Regions from separate parts of the Homo sapiens genome. Here region 1 is linked to region 2. Evidence: promoter capture Hi-C in 16 types of primary human blood cells and fetal thymus (Javierre and others, 2016). All regions are on one chromosome and are shown on one strand. The core of a region is centred on a gene start or on the middle of the fragment in contact, and the rest is flanking DNA. Distances in the headings are between cores, read along the strand shown.

Region 1 (5,759 bases), core at 3,018-5,517, 470 kb after region 2:
GACTTCTCAGCTTCCATAATCATGTGACCCAATTCCTTATTAAAAATCTCTCTCTCTCTCTCTCTGTGCACACCTGATTGGTTCTGTTTCTCTGGAGATGCCTGACTAATACAGATAGATTTTATTGAATTAAAAAATCAGTGGAAGCGAGTTAAGTATAGAAAAAATACATGGGTTTTGGAATGTCAGGGGTGTTAGTCCATTCTCACATTGCTGTAACTTACTACCTGAAACTGGGTAATTTATAAAGAAAAGAGATTTAATTGGCTCATGGTTTCACAGGCCATGCAGGAACCATGGCTGGGGAGGTCTCAGGAAACTTACAGTCATGATGGAAGGTGAAGAGGAAGGAGGTATGTCTTACATGGCTGGAGCAGGAGGAAAAGAGTGAAGGGGGGTGATACACACTATTAAACAACCAGATCTCATGAGAACGCACTATCACAAGAACAGCAAGGGGGAAATCTACCCCCATGATCCAAACACCTCCCACTTGGCCCCTCCTCCAGCACTGGAGATCACAATTTGACATGACATTTGGGCAGGAACACAAATCCAAACCATATCACCATGTAAAAAATTCAGTTATTATTCTAGAGTTGACAGGGTGTCTGTTGCGTTCTAGAGCAGGAAAATGGTATAATTCATTAGCATGGCAATAGGGTTATGATGTGTCAGTTAATCAGGGAAGGGTGAGTAGTCAAAGATGACAGTAAGCCTGTCATTCTAACTTCAGTTGCATCAGAATCACCTGAAGAGCTCATTAAAATACATATTACTGGGCCCCATTCCCTGAGTTTCTGGTTCAATTACAATTTGCATCTCTAACAAACTTCCCAGTGATGCTGATATTGCTGACCCAGGGACCACATTTTGAGAACCACTGTACAAAGGATTCAAACAAGTATTAGAGGGACTGGTAGCAATAGTAAAAGAAATAAGTAAAGAAGTATATTCAGAAAAGGCATTTGTGGTGAAGATGAGATGTTTCACTTCAGTTATTCTGCTTCTATAGCTGCCTTTAGCACAATTAACAGCTCAGCAAGATTATCTACAGGCAACAGAACTTCTAGTGAAAGGACCCAGCTTATTTTCACTTGTGGCCTAACCAGTTTTACTTGTTTCTTCCCCTTATTCCTCCTTTCCCTTCTTCCATATCTTCTTGTCTTCCTTCCTTCATTCCGTGCCCAGTCTGAGACCACCATTCATGAGCCTCATTCTGAGAACTCTGCAGCTTTGTAGCAGATGCAACTTTGGAAAGCAGAGGAGAGGAGAACTGATCTTATTAGGGCAGATAAAACAGTAAGGCACAGCGTATTTGGCAGATGTAGATTATTTAAGGTGGTTAGTCTCAATACCTTTATGAGCATTAAAGGTCATAGAAAAAATAATGGTTCATTATAAGCCATTTTTTAGAACAAAAACAAATGTGCTTTATTAGCAGTAAGGATTTATATTTTAGATCACGAACTTTGGATTAGAGTTATTTATCAAGAGTTTATAGGAATCGGCTGGGCACGGTGGCTCAAGCCTGCAATCCCAGCACTTTGGGAGGCCGAGGCAGGCGGATGGCTTGAGCCCAGGATTTCAAGACCATCCTGGGCAACCTGGAAAATCCCTGTCTCTAATAAAAATACAAAAATTAACTGGGTGTGATGATGCAGTTCTCAAGTTCATGGATAGTAGGCCAGACCTGGTTGAGTGACTGAGAACACTATAAGAACAGACCTTTGACCAAGTACCCTGGGACTAGGATCTACCAAAAAGCTATCTTCACCAAATGAATTGTTATTACAATTTAAAGCATGTCTTTATTTTATAACTCTACTACAATATAAATCAGCTTTGTAAGGATATGTTAGCTGGGTTTAGTGGCTCAGCTACATGAGAGGCTAAGGTGGGAGGATTGATTGAGCCCTGGAGATGAAGGTTGCAGTGAGCTGAGATGGCACCACTGTACTCCAGCCTTGATGACACAGCGAGACTCAAAAAAAAAAAAAAAAAAAGGTAAAGTAAAATAAAAATAAAGAGTTTATAAAAATGTAAAAGCCTAGATCAGATAATATTTTATTGCATTATTTAATTGTAATTCTAAGGACAAATGTGATATCCTTACTCCAACTATTAAATTCTTTCAGAAAATTCCATTTGCTTTGCTTCGTTATGATTAATTAATGTGGTGGCTTCCACATCATTCTCAGCAAATTAACCCAGGAACAGAAAATGAAACACCTCATGTTCTCACTCATAAGTGGGAGTTGAACAATGAAAATGCACGGACACAGGGAGGGGAACATCACATACCGGGGCCTGTCAAGGGGTGGGGGGCAAGGGGAGGGAGAGCCTTAGGACAAATACCTAATGCATGCAGGGCTTAAAACCTAGATGATGGGTTGATGAGTGTAGCAAACCACCATGACACATGTATACTATGTAACAAACCTGCACATTCTGCACTTGTATCCTAGAACTTAAAGTTAAAAAAAAAAAGAGATAATTTAAAAAATATATGGTGGCTTCCAAATCTGGGAGGCTTGTTAAAATGCAAATTTTTAGATCCCACTGTAAAGATTTCAATTCAATAGTTCTTGGGTAGGGTTCAGAAATCTGTGTTTTTAAGAAGTTATCCTATATTATTCTTCAGAACCAGTAGAGATCAGCTTTGGGAACCATGGATTTATGGTACAGTTGCAATTTGGTTGTCCTGGTAAGTTGGTAACAATACGCCATGATTTATAATAAATAGTAAATGCTAGTTTAGAGTGGAGGGAAGGCAGACATTAAGAGAGGATCCAAGAGAAGAATGATAAAATTAGGGGATCTCAAGGTCCTGAATTTTCTATAAGACTGTGGCATAAGTGGCAATTTCCAAGAAGACTTGCCCAAGATTCCCATACTCACTAAAGACTGTGGCAGTTGACATACTTCCAGGAGTGTGCAATCTTAATGTTTCTGTAAGAGAAAGGGCCAGCTCTGTGTGTGCTGATCTCATTTGAACACGGAACTATTTGAACACAGGAAGACAGACTGTGGCAATAAGATTGCTCACCCAAGCACAATGTTGTCCTTAATCCTCTTGGCTTGCTCTGGCCTCTGTGGGCTACCCCTTGGTGGTATGGATGGGTTGACTGCAGTCTGTCTCTTGCCTTTTGAACTTCAAAGTTAGATGGACTTTCAATTTTTACTGTGACTCTTTGAAGTCTACCCTGCTCAGCCTATTTTAAAAAGCACCCTGTATAAACAATTACCCATAATCCTGATTCCTTTAAATCATGCTCTCCATTTCCCTTTTCCCATTGAACTTATCACATTATATGACTATATAATTAACTAATTACATTTAGTGTTTATCTCTCCAACTAGTTATAAGTGCAGAAATCTTTGATTTGTTCATTAAAACATCCTAAACATCTAGTACATATGTAGTAAGTGGTCAATAAATAGTAAATGAGGCTGGGCATGGCCTGTAATCCCAGCACTTTGGGAGGCCAAGGCAGGCGGATCACCTGAGGTCGGGAGTTCGAGACCAGCCTGACCAACATGGAGAAACCTCATCTCCTAAAAATGCAAAATTAGCTGGGCGTGGTTGTGCATGCCTGTAATCCCAGCTACTAGGGAGGCTGAGGCAGGAGAATCACTTGAACCCAGGAGGCAGAGGTTGTGGTGAGCCCAGATTGCATCATTGCACTCCAGCCTGGGCAACAAGAGCGAAACTCCATCTAAAAAAAAAATAGTAAATGAATGTTTCTGATTAAAATCAAACTTTGTTCAAGTCTGAAAGCAATCCATATAGCTGGTTTGGGAAATAGAAGTATACTCTTTAAAATATTTTTTTCCCTCAACATTTGAAATAAGTAGGTATAATATAAAAAATGTCCATGCCTTACCTTGAAAACCATTTTTAAAATCTGCTCCATTTGGTAAGAGATCTGGAGTGTATTCACTGTAGCCACCTACATAAAACTGACTGAAGACATTGAGACCAACCAGTCTTCCTGGGGCGATAATGGATTTATTTTTATGATCATCTACCTTCGAAAGGGAAAAAAAACCTATTAAAAAAGGAATTAATTCCCCAGGGTGAAATGTTAAGATACTCTTTTGTTATTTCCCATTAACTTGGCATGAAAAATTTACAAAGACCTGAATTTTGAAGAAATAACATGATACCACTCAATTCTCTGCTTCTCTGCTGGTGTCTGTTACCAGGGATATATTAATATAGCAGTCATGGTTTTGCATTTCAATCAAAATCAAAGTTCTTCAAAGATTAGGTGCTGGCATCCTGCTGATTCCCCTCCATTTAGCCTTCCTCCTCTGCTATCAATTCTCCATAGAACCACCAGAGTCCTTTATCAAAAATTAGAAATCAACATGGTACCCACCTTCCTAAGTAGCTCTTCATAGTTCTTTAGATAAAAATATAAACTTCTTAGCACATCTAAGCCCTTTGATAATATAGACCTTATCTGTCTCTAACCACTTCTCTAGCTCCCCCATCCCCCAACCTAAAAACCATGCTGAACTACTTGCATTCCTTAAGCTAATACTGGCCATTGTTCTCTTTCTTAACTCCTATTTGAAGTTACGCTCAAGCATCACCTTCTCTGGGAAGCACTTTCTGAATCCTCTCTCTCACCCTTATCTGTGTTAGTAATCCCTCTTATTTGTTCTCACACCACTTAATTGTAATCATCTCTCTATTCCCCTAGTTGGTACAATAGTCTGTGAACTTCGTGGATGTAGGCATCATGGGCTATTCACCTCTGTATCTTAGCACAGATCTGACAATATACTAGTGCTCTCAGTTTGTGGAAGTGACGAAGGAATGACTCTTTACCTTCAGCCAGCCCTCTTGGAAGAACTTGCCCAGATGAACAGTGTGGACTCCAAGGCTCAGATTGAGGGGCTCGCTCCTGATGCTTGCTATGCCAGACCCCAGGTTATAACTATAAACCACACTGCCATTGAGCAGGCCCACAGCCAGGAAGTCATCGCCATTCAACCCTGGAATGAGAAGACACATGGGGAATGCTCACTGAGAGGAAATTCAGGAGTTCCGTCAGCTTTATTTTACTGACTGGTTCTGAATTACAGATCAGTATGGTAAGTTATAATACATATTTAGTCTCTAGTCAGCATTTAGGTATATGTGCAACTGGCTGTTGTTATTCCCAGCCCCAGAAACAGAGCACCAAGAGTTTATGTCTTTGAAGCCATGAGGGTTCTGGTCAACCTGGGGAATGATCAATGATCAACTAAAAAGTTGAATGGGATTAAAATCTCCTTTTGTCGGAGTGAAATTCAGTGTGCACTTTACAATAAGGAGAACTTCACAATGGAGTAGAATTGCTCCGGTAGCTAACGAGATTCAAAAGGCTGAGATGACCTAGCATCAGCTTTGAAGTTCTTTCTATGATTTGAGAATAGGATAAAGACCAATTTATTCCTATGATTGCTAAGAATATGTTATCATTATTCTATTACAAAAGCTCTTAACCATGCCCCATGACCATTTAAAGGTGGATTGTTTCTGTGTTCCCTCTTCTCTCTCTCCTTCCATTAGTTCAGAGCCATCCATGCAGTACAGTGAGTTCCAGGACCCAGAACACTCAGGAGACAGTTCTTAAAGACCCACGGGACAAAGGAAGTGGTTGGGAGTGACCCAGCATTAATCACTAGGGGAAGGTGCTAGCAGTATCCTTGGCGGGATTAAGAAGTTCTGGGATGATCCATCAGTATATAGCAAGAGATCTGTT
Region 2 (6,475 bases), core at 1,184-3,683:
CCTTGAAATCTTCAGAAGACAAATCTTCTGAATTCTCAGAGACAAAACAAATGGAAAATACAAAACAAGAATCAGGAGGTCTCTAGAGTCACACAGACAATAGCATAAAGCAGGGAAAGCTGGGGTAGGTAAATCTCTAGCCTCTTGAAGCAAGCCTCTAGAAGGTCAGGTAGAGCCTCCCATGGGGCTGCACTTCATGCCCCCAACAGATACAGGCTGCAGAGCAGGATGAGTCTCTGACTTCACCCCAGATGGCATTCATTCCTTCTGTGATATGGAAACGTCAGAACTGTGTCTACCTGTGTCAGTGTTCTCTGTATTGAGTTATAAATATCTGCAGGGTGGGGAACAGATCTTACTCACTTGACATATTACCCAGCTCAGCACCACACACAAGGTTCTTGATAAACAGATTTTAATTGTTATGATATGCCACTCTTTCACTCAATTTCACAATTTCATACACCCATAGGATCTACTTTAAGAAGTAAGAATGTGTTTTCAATCTATTTTTTGTCTGCCACTGCTAAGAATGTAGCTGAATGCATGACTTTACAGCATTGTTTTAAATAGAGAATCTCAGTAAAATATTCTTTAGGGGAGTACCAAACCTAAGATTAATAACTGTTCATTTTACTGAATATTCTGACAAAGAATTTCTTCAGACTGGGGAAGTAAGTATTCTGAGGGATTTTCTCCATATACACAATCTGCCCTTCGGAATCCACTGAGCTTTTGTTCAGCTGCTGTGTTTTGTAGTTAACTTCATGCTGCTCTTGCTCACATTACCAGAGCATCTAGCATGAAACACAGTCTTGTCCTTTTCCAAACATCTGTTAGCTGGAAAAGGAATGTCACATGTCATCTCTCTCCCTCCTTCCATATTCTTTCACTTCCTGAGAATGCGAACCTATACAGGAGAGTATAAAAGAGCTTATTCAGTGGAGTTGGGTCAAGTGGCCAGCCAAGATTCACCTTTATTACATCTAGTAAATACAATGCTCTATTCCAACTTTGAGGGAACTTTTCCTCAAAAGACAGAGAATGTCTCTTGCTGTGAGAATTGTGCAGTTTAAAAATCATATTGTTCATTTTTCTGCTCTCCTAAGAGTAAACAATCAACATTTGGTCTAGACTGGTCTTGAGGAGGGCATGGCTTTTAAGGACTTTCATGGGAGCTGTATCACCTGGAATCCTGGACTAAAATTGTGGGAGCTGGGGAAGAAAGCAGAGTTCTGCCATGGGATCAGAAGTAGTAAGTAAAACTAGTCCAAGAAGTTACATAGTTAGAAATCAAAATCCCAAAAAGCTAATGATGTATATGCTAATTACCTTTACTTTCTTTCTATAAGCCTTCCTTTGCAGCTATGAATTTACTTTTAGCTAAATTCATTATAATCACATAAACATGTCCACCATTTGATGCCTACAACAGTGACATGACAGTACAGGATAAGCCACAGCTCCTCCTCAGGGAGTGCCTTCTTCACATAGCCTTGCCCAGTTTCCCTTAGGGAAAGTGCATTTGTTCTTGACTCTATTTCAAAACAACTGCTTGTATTCACTATACAGATCAGTGAACCCATTCTTAGATGTTAGCTATCTTCTCCACTACATGCAAAAGTGGGGACCAGGTTTGTTCTCTATATGCCACTATTTCATACATAATGCACTGGTCTTCCACTGCACTCTTCACATAGTAGGTATGCTTCTTGCATTATATTTTCTTAACCTACTAAAGATAACTCACATCCTCCCAAATTTTACCACAGCTTGCCTCCAAGTCTGCACTTCAGTCTTTCAGAATGGTCAGTCAGAAATACAAGAGTGAAGGTTGGGTACACACACATTAAGAAGTGAGGAGAAATGTTATATGTTGACAACTGATTATTTTAATATATGCTAGACCCTATAAGTGGCTATCATTATTCATGCTGTGCATTTCAAATATAATTTGAAAACAGGTTTCCACCTTTAGTCATTTAATCTCAAAGCATATTTATTAGAAAGAGGCCAAAGCTTTGAGAAAAACAAAGATTATTCTCTCAATAACAACCAAAATAGAAATAAATTTTTTTATAGCATACTTATGCTTCTGAAACTCAGTGCCTATTGAACTTAAATGATTATTCAAACCAAATGAGCTTTCCTAGATGAATATTTTGAATTGTTTAGTTTTTATTATCTTTATAAATTCACTGTGTAGTACAGAAGGGCAATTCTTCATAAACTTCTCCTGAGTGGACATATAACAAGTATAATTATGCTGCCCTTATTCTTACTGGCATTCAAATAATTGACATTTTTTAAAAAGATTTACTGTCAATATTTTGGTTAAAAACATTTTAATGATTAGCTTCATACCTCCTGCAGAAGGTCCTCTTCATTATTCATCTCAACACTTTTTAAGTTCAGCGTTAGAAACCACAATATCCTCAACAAATGCATTCAACATGTATTTATATGTGTACCTACAACAAAGACTGCAGATGATGAATTCCATAGAGGCTTTTCCAGAGGGGTCTGGCAGGTAATAAAAGATAAACATCAGATTCTGATGTGTCATGCCCAAGGCACAGTATGCTGGAAATGCACTAGAAGAATCGAATGACAAATGCTTGTTTACGCCTGACTCCCTGCAAACAAAAGACATACAAAGCTTAAAATTGTGTTGGTTGATTTTTTTCTCCAACATACAGAATTTTTGTTACATAACAATTGTATTCTGGAATGATATCTATTGTCAGATTCAGATGATGAAACACTTATTAGACGACTATGCTATCAAAGCCCACAGACAAAAGCACAGATGGAAAAATACAGCTATAAGTGACCCAGATTTTTACCAATGGCAAAGATCCACTCATTTGTAATTCTCATTTTTATTTTCTTTTCTAGGTCCCTCTGGCCTCCAAATTAATTCTGGACCTTCATTATAAAACTGAAATATCTTTCTTTAGCTTTTCCAATTCTCCGATGTCAGTCTGTGACAAATCCCAGACCATCCCCACTGTGCACAATGAACACAGAATCATCTACAGGCTGCCCCATATGGTCCCATAAACAATCCTAACTCAGTAGAGGAAATAGGGAATGCTTTCTCTTCACTAGTAAAGGGGGTTTGAAATCACACTTCTGCTGCTATCAACTCAACTTCAAGTATTGTTGATGAAGGAGGATATGCAGTTTCTTCTGAACCAAACCAAATTCTCTCTAAGCATTTTCCATGTGGAAGTGTATAGTCTCCATGGCTAATCACTTCTTCCTGGTCTTCTGGGCCTGAGGAAGACCAAGCCAATACTTACAACCACTCAATCCTGCCTGACTCTCTTGGCCCATTTCAAAAGCCCCATTTCCTAAAGACAGTGATTAACTATTCCTATTTCCATTCCATTGGTACTTGTTCCATGACTGACTCTAAAGCTTCTGCTCTGTGTAGCCTGATCTACAACCAGATCTTGAATTTGGACCTAGTTCTGATGCTGATGCCAGCCTGAAACTGCATCCTGAATATGGCTGTTTTGGACTCTTGAACCTCCCCAAGAAAAGGGATTCTATCTCCTATCCTAGTATTTGACTTGCTCTTGGTGCTTTCCCCCAGATCTCTAGTAGGGTGTTTAATTCCCACAATGTCTTGTACCAGAGCCTTACCTAAGTTTTTCTCAATCCTCTTCTGAGACCACATTTGCTTCCACTTTTACAACTTTTTCTTGCATGTGCTTGTCTCCATGCAAAACAGGTGCCATTGAGCTATGGAAAAAAATGTTTTGTGAAAAATTTCGTTTTTGTTTCAGAAATGTTCCCTTTCCTATATCAAAGAAAAGAACTCCAAGCTGGTTTACATGTTCAGTTACATATTGGGACATGTTTTAAAAAAATCATTCCTTTATAGTACTACTTACCCAAATTTTCTCCTGGGAGTTTTATTGTTATTGAATATGCAATTTGATTCATTTCATCTTCTTTTCCTTACCTTATTTTGACAATCTCTTCTTCTCAATGTGTATCCATGATTTTTTTATAATATCCTTTCCTGAACCTTGATTTGCCCATTTTTGTAAAAAGTGTTCTAAAGCTTGGTTGGACATATGGTGTATAACCTAATTTATGGTATTAGCATGATACATATTTTAAAAGTATTACCATTATTTAGAATCAGTTTTTCCAAAGGAAAAACCAAATGTCAGTAAAGGGCTTAACAAATAGATTAGAAAAATAATAAATGGTCAATAAGTCCATATTAAACACTTTCATTCACAAGCATTTGTTCAATCTGTACTATATCCAGAAAGCTATCTTAGTCAAAATGAATATAGTCATTGAGCCATGAATGTAAATGATACAAGTCTTTCTCTTACCACTCTTCTGAGACAACATATGGAAAGACCGTTCAACTCAAGTACTTCTCCTGCCAAAAAGTTGTAATCTAATTGAATGGATCCAGAGAAGAGTAACTAAAATGATTAAAGGAATTATGGGATTCATTTCATGAGAACAGATTGCAGAAGCTAAAGCTTACTAAGTACCAACAAGGGGAAACAATATGTTGTTTACCACTAAGTTACTGCCTTCTGATGAATTATTGAACAGGATTGGAAGAGCAAAGGATGCAAATTAGGTAAAGGATTAAATCTATTCTTTCACTGTGGGAGAAAATGAAATCACAATGAATCTGTTTTTGTTTCATGTTTACATATATTATATGTTACAGTACAGTGTATAAAATACAAAGTTCTTGTCTTCCCAGCACTAACTGATAAGGAAATAGGGTGAAAACATGCCCAATGAGACCAAGGGAATAACTGACTTGTGAGAATAATAGCCAAGTTCAGTGAAGGAAATAATCTTTCTTATGACCTTCATGAATCACAAAAATATGGTTTCAGGTCAGCATAAGAACATAACAACCACGACAGAAGGATACTTCCACCCTACCTTTCTCCCGATTTGTTGTTGTTCTAGAAGCTGCATGGGTTTGTTCCTCCTTTATATGCATCTAATTATGACATACCTAACAGGAAGACTACATTGACACCCTTTATTGAAGATAACATCATACAAAAATTATAAGGAGTAATATTTGAGCTTCCCTAGTGGTTCTAGAACTCCTGTTCACAAAGGCCCCCAAAAGTTCCTTTCATGAATCCAGTCCCCATTTCTTTTCAGTTCTTCCCAGAAATACCTCATTTTCTAAGAAAATGGTAGATCTGTTTACAGAATTAAGATTTAAAACCGATGATTAAAAAATATTGGAGTGAGGACAGGTAGAAAATCAGTGAATTCAGGGCTGAGCGGAAACACACATTGGCAGGGAAACTGAAGAATATTTTTGTGTGTCCTTTTCATTTGTTTCAGAAAGGGAATTTCTCCTCTCATCTGCCCCTTCGATAAACCTAAGTAAGCAATGAGTAGAAAACAGCGTAACTCCCTGAAAAAAATTATTTTGTAAAGTTGATACAATTTAAAACTAGTTTAAAATCATTTTAATTTAGCATTTTCAATGATTTTCACATATCCTTAAGCATTTATATATTTAGCACAAGCTTCATAAAGTTAAATGAAGTCAGTTGTGAAAGTGGAAGCATGAAATTCTGAATTCCAAGGCACATAAGGAGCTTGCAATCACATATAATAAGTTAAAAATTATTCCAAAACAGCCCAAGCTATTTTTAGAAGGAGAGTGCCACAGAATACATTTCTTTTTATTTGTAAGATTTATGGAGTCCAGGTGCAGTTTTGTTACATGAATATAGTGCATAGTGGTGAAGTCTTGGCTTTTAGTGTAGCCATCACCGGAATAGTATACATTGTACCTGTTAAGTAATTTCTCATCACTCATCCCACTCCACCCTTTTGAGTCTCTACTGTCTATTCACAGAAGACATTTTTATAACACCATTAATTTTAAAAAATTGGTAGCTGGTGTTGTCCTTGTTTCCTTCTTTTAATGGCATCATTCTACTTATTGTGATAATATCTACAAATTCTTGAGAGCACCAAAACCTCATATACACACACACACACACACACACACACACACACACACACACACACACAGGTTATGTTAATCAATATTAGCATATTTAAAAATATAATAATAATGGGCATTGTACATATTAACATAAATAGCATTTTTTATAGAAAATTGATTTCTTATTTTCACAAATTGCTCTAATGTCTAGCTTAAGAGAAAAACCACTGGAATCTCGTATGTTTTTGCATTCTTTTTTTTTTTTTTTTTGAAACACAGTCTGCTCTGTCACCCAGACTGGAGTGCAGTGGTGCGATCTGGGCTCACTGCAACCTCCGCCTCCCGGGTTCAAGCAATTCTCCTGCCTCAGCCTCCCAGATAGCTGGGATTACAGGCACCCGCCACCACACCTGGATAACTTTTAGTATTTTTAGTAGAGACAGGGTTTCGCCATGTTGGCCAGGCTGGTCTGGAACTCCTGACCTCAGGTGATCCACCTGCCTC

What was found. Contacts are between HindIII fragments. The CHiCAGO score rates a contact against its expected background, and 5 or more counts as called.
Region 1: a contact is called between a fragment that was not itself captured here and the fragment with the promoter of LGSN in region 2, in 9 of 17 cell types (M2 macrophages, M1 macrophages, endothelial precursors and 6 more). The highest score is 8.0, in M2 macrophages.

What each region holds. Positions count from the first base shown.
Region 1 is chr6:63,784,218-63,789,976 of GRCh38, forward strand. EYS (eyes shut homolog) reads right to left here. Exons shown (of 43, transcript NM_001142800.2): 38 at 4,841-5,007; 39 at 3,888-4,032. Among named protein-coding and RNA genes, the nearest start is that of SCAT8, 20 kb to the right of the region's middle. The HindIII fragment of the contact is 9,890 bases long and covers 1-5,759 here.
Region 2 is chr6:63,317,550-63,324,024 of GRCh38, forward strand. It overlaps LGSN (lengsin, lens protein with glutamine synthetase domain), which reads right to left and starts at 2,434. Exons shown (of 4, transcript NM_016571.3): 1 at 2,365-2,434. The coding sequence starts at 2,394. The HindIII fragment of the contact is 640 bases long and covers 2,018-2,657 here.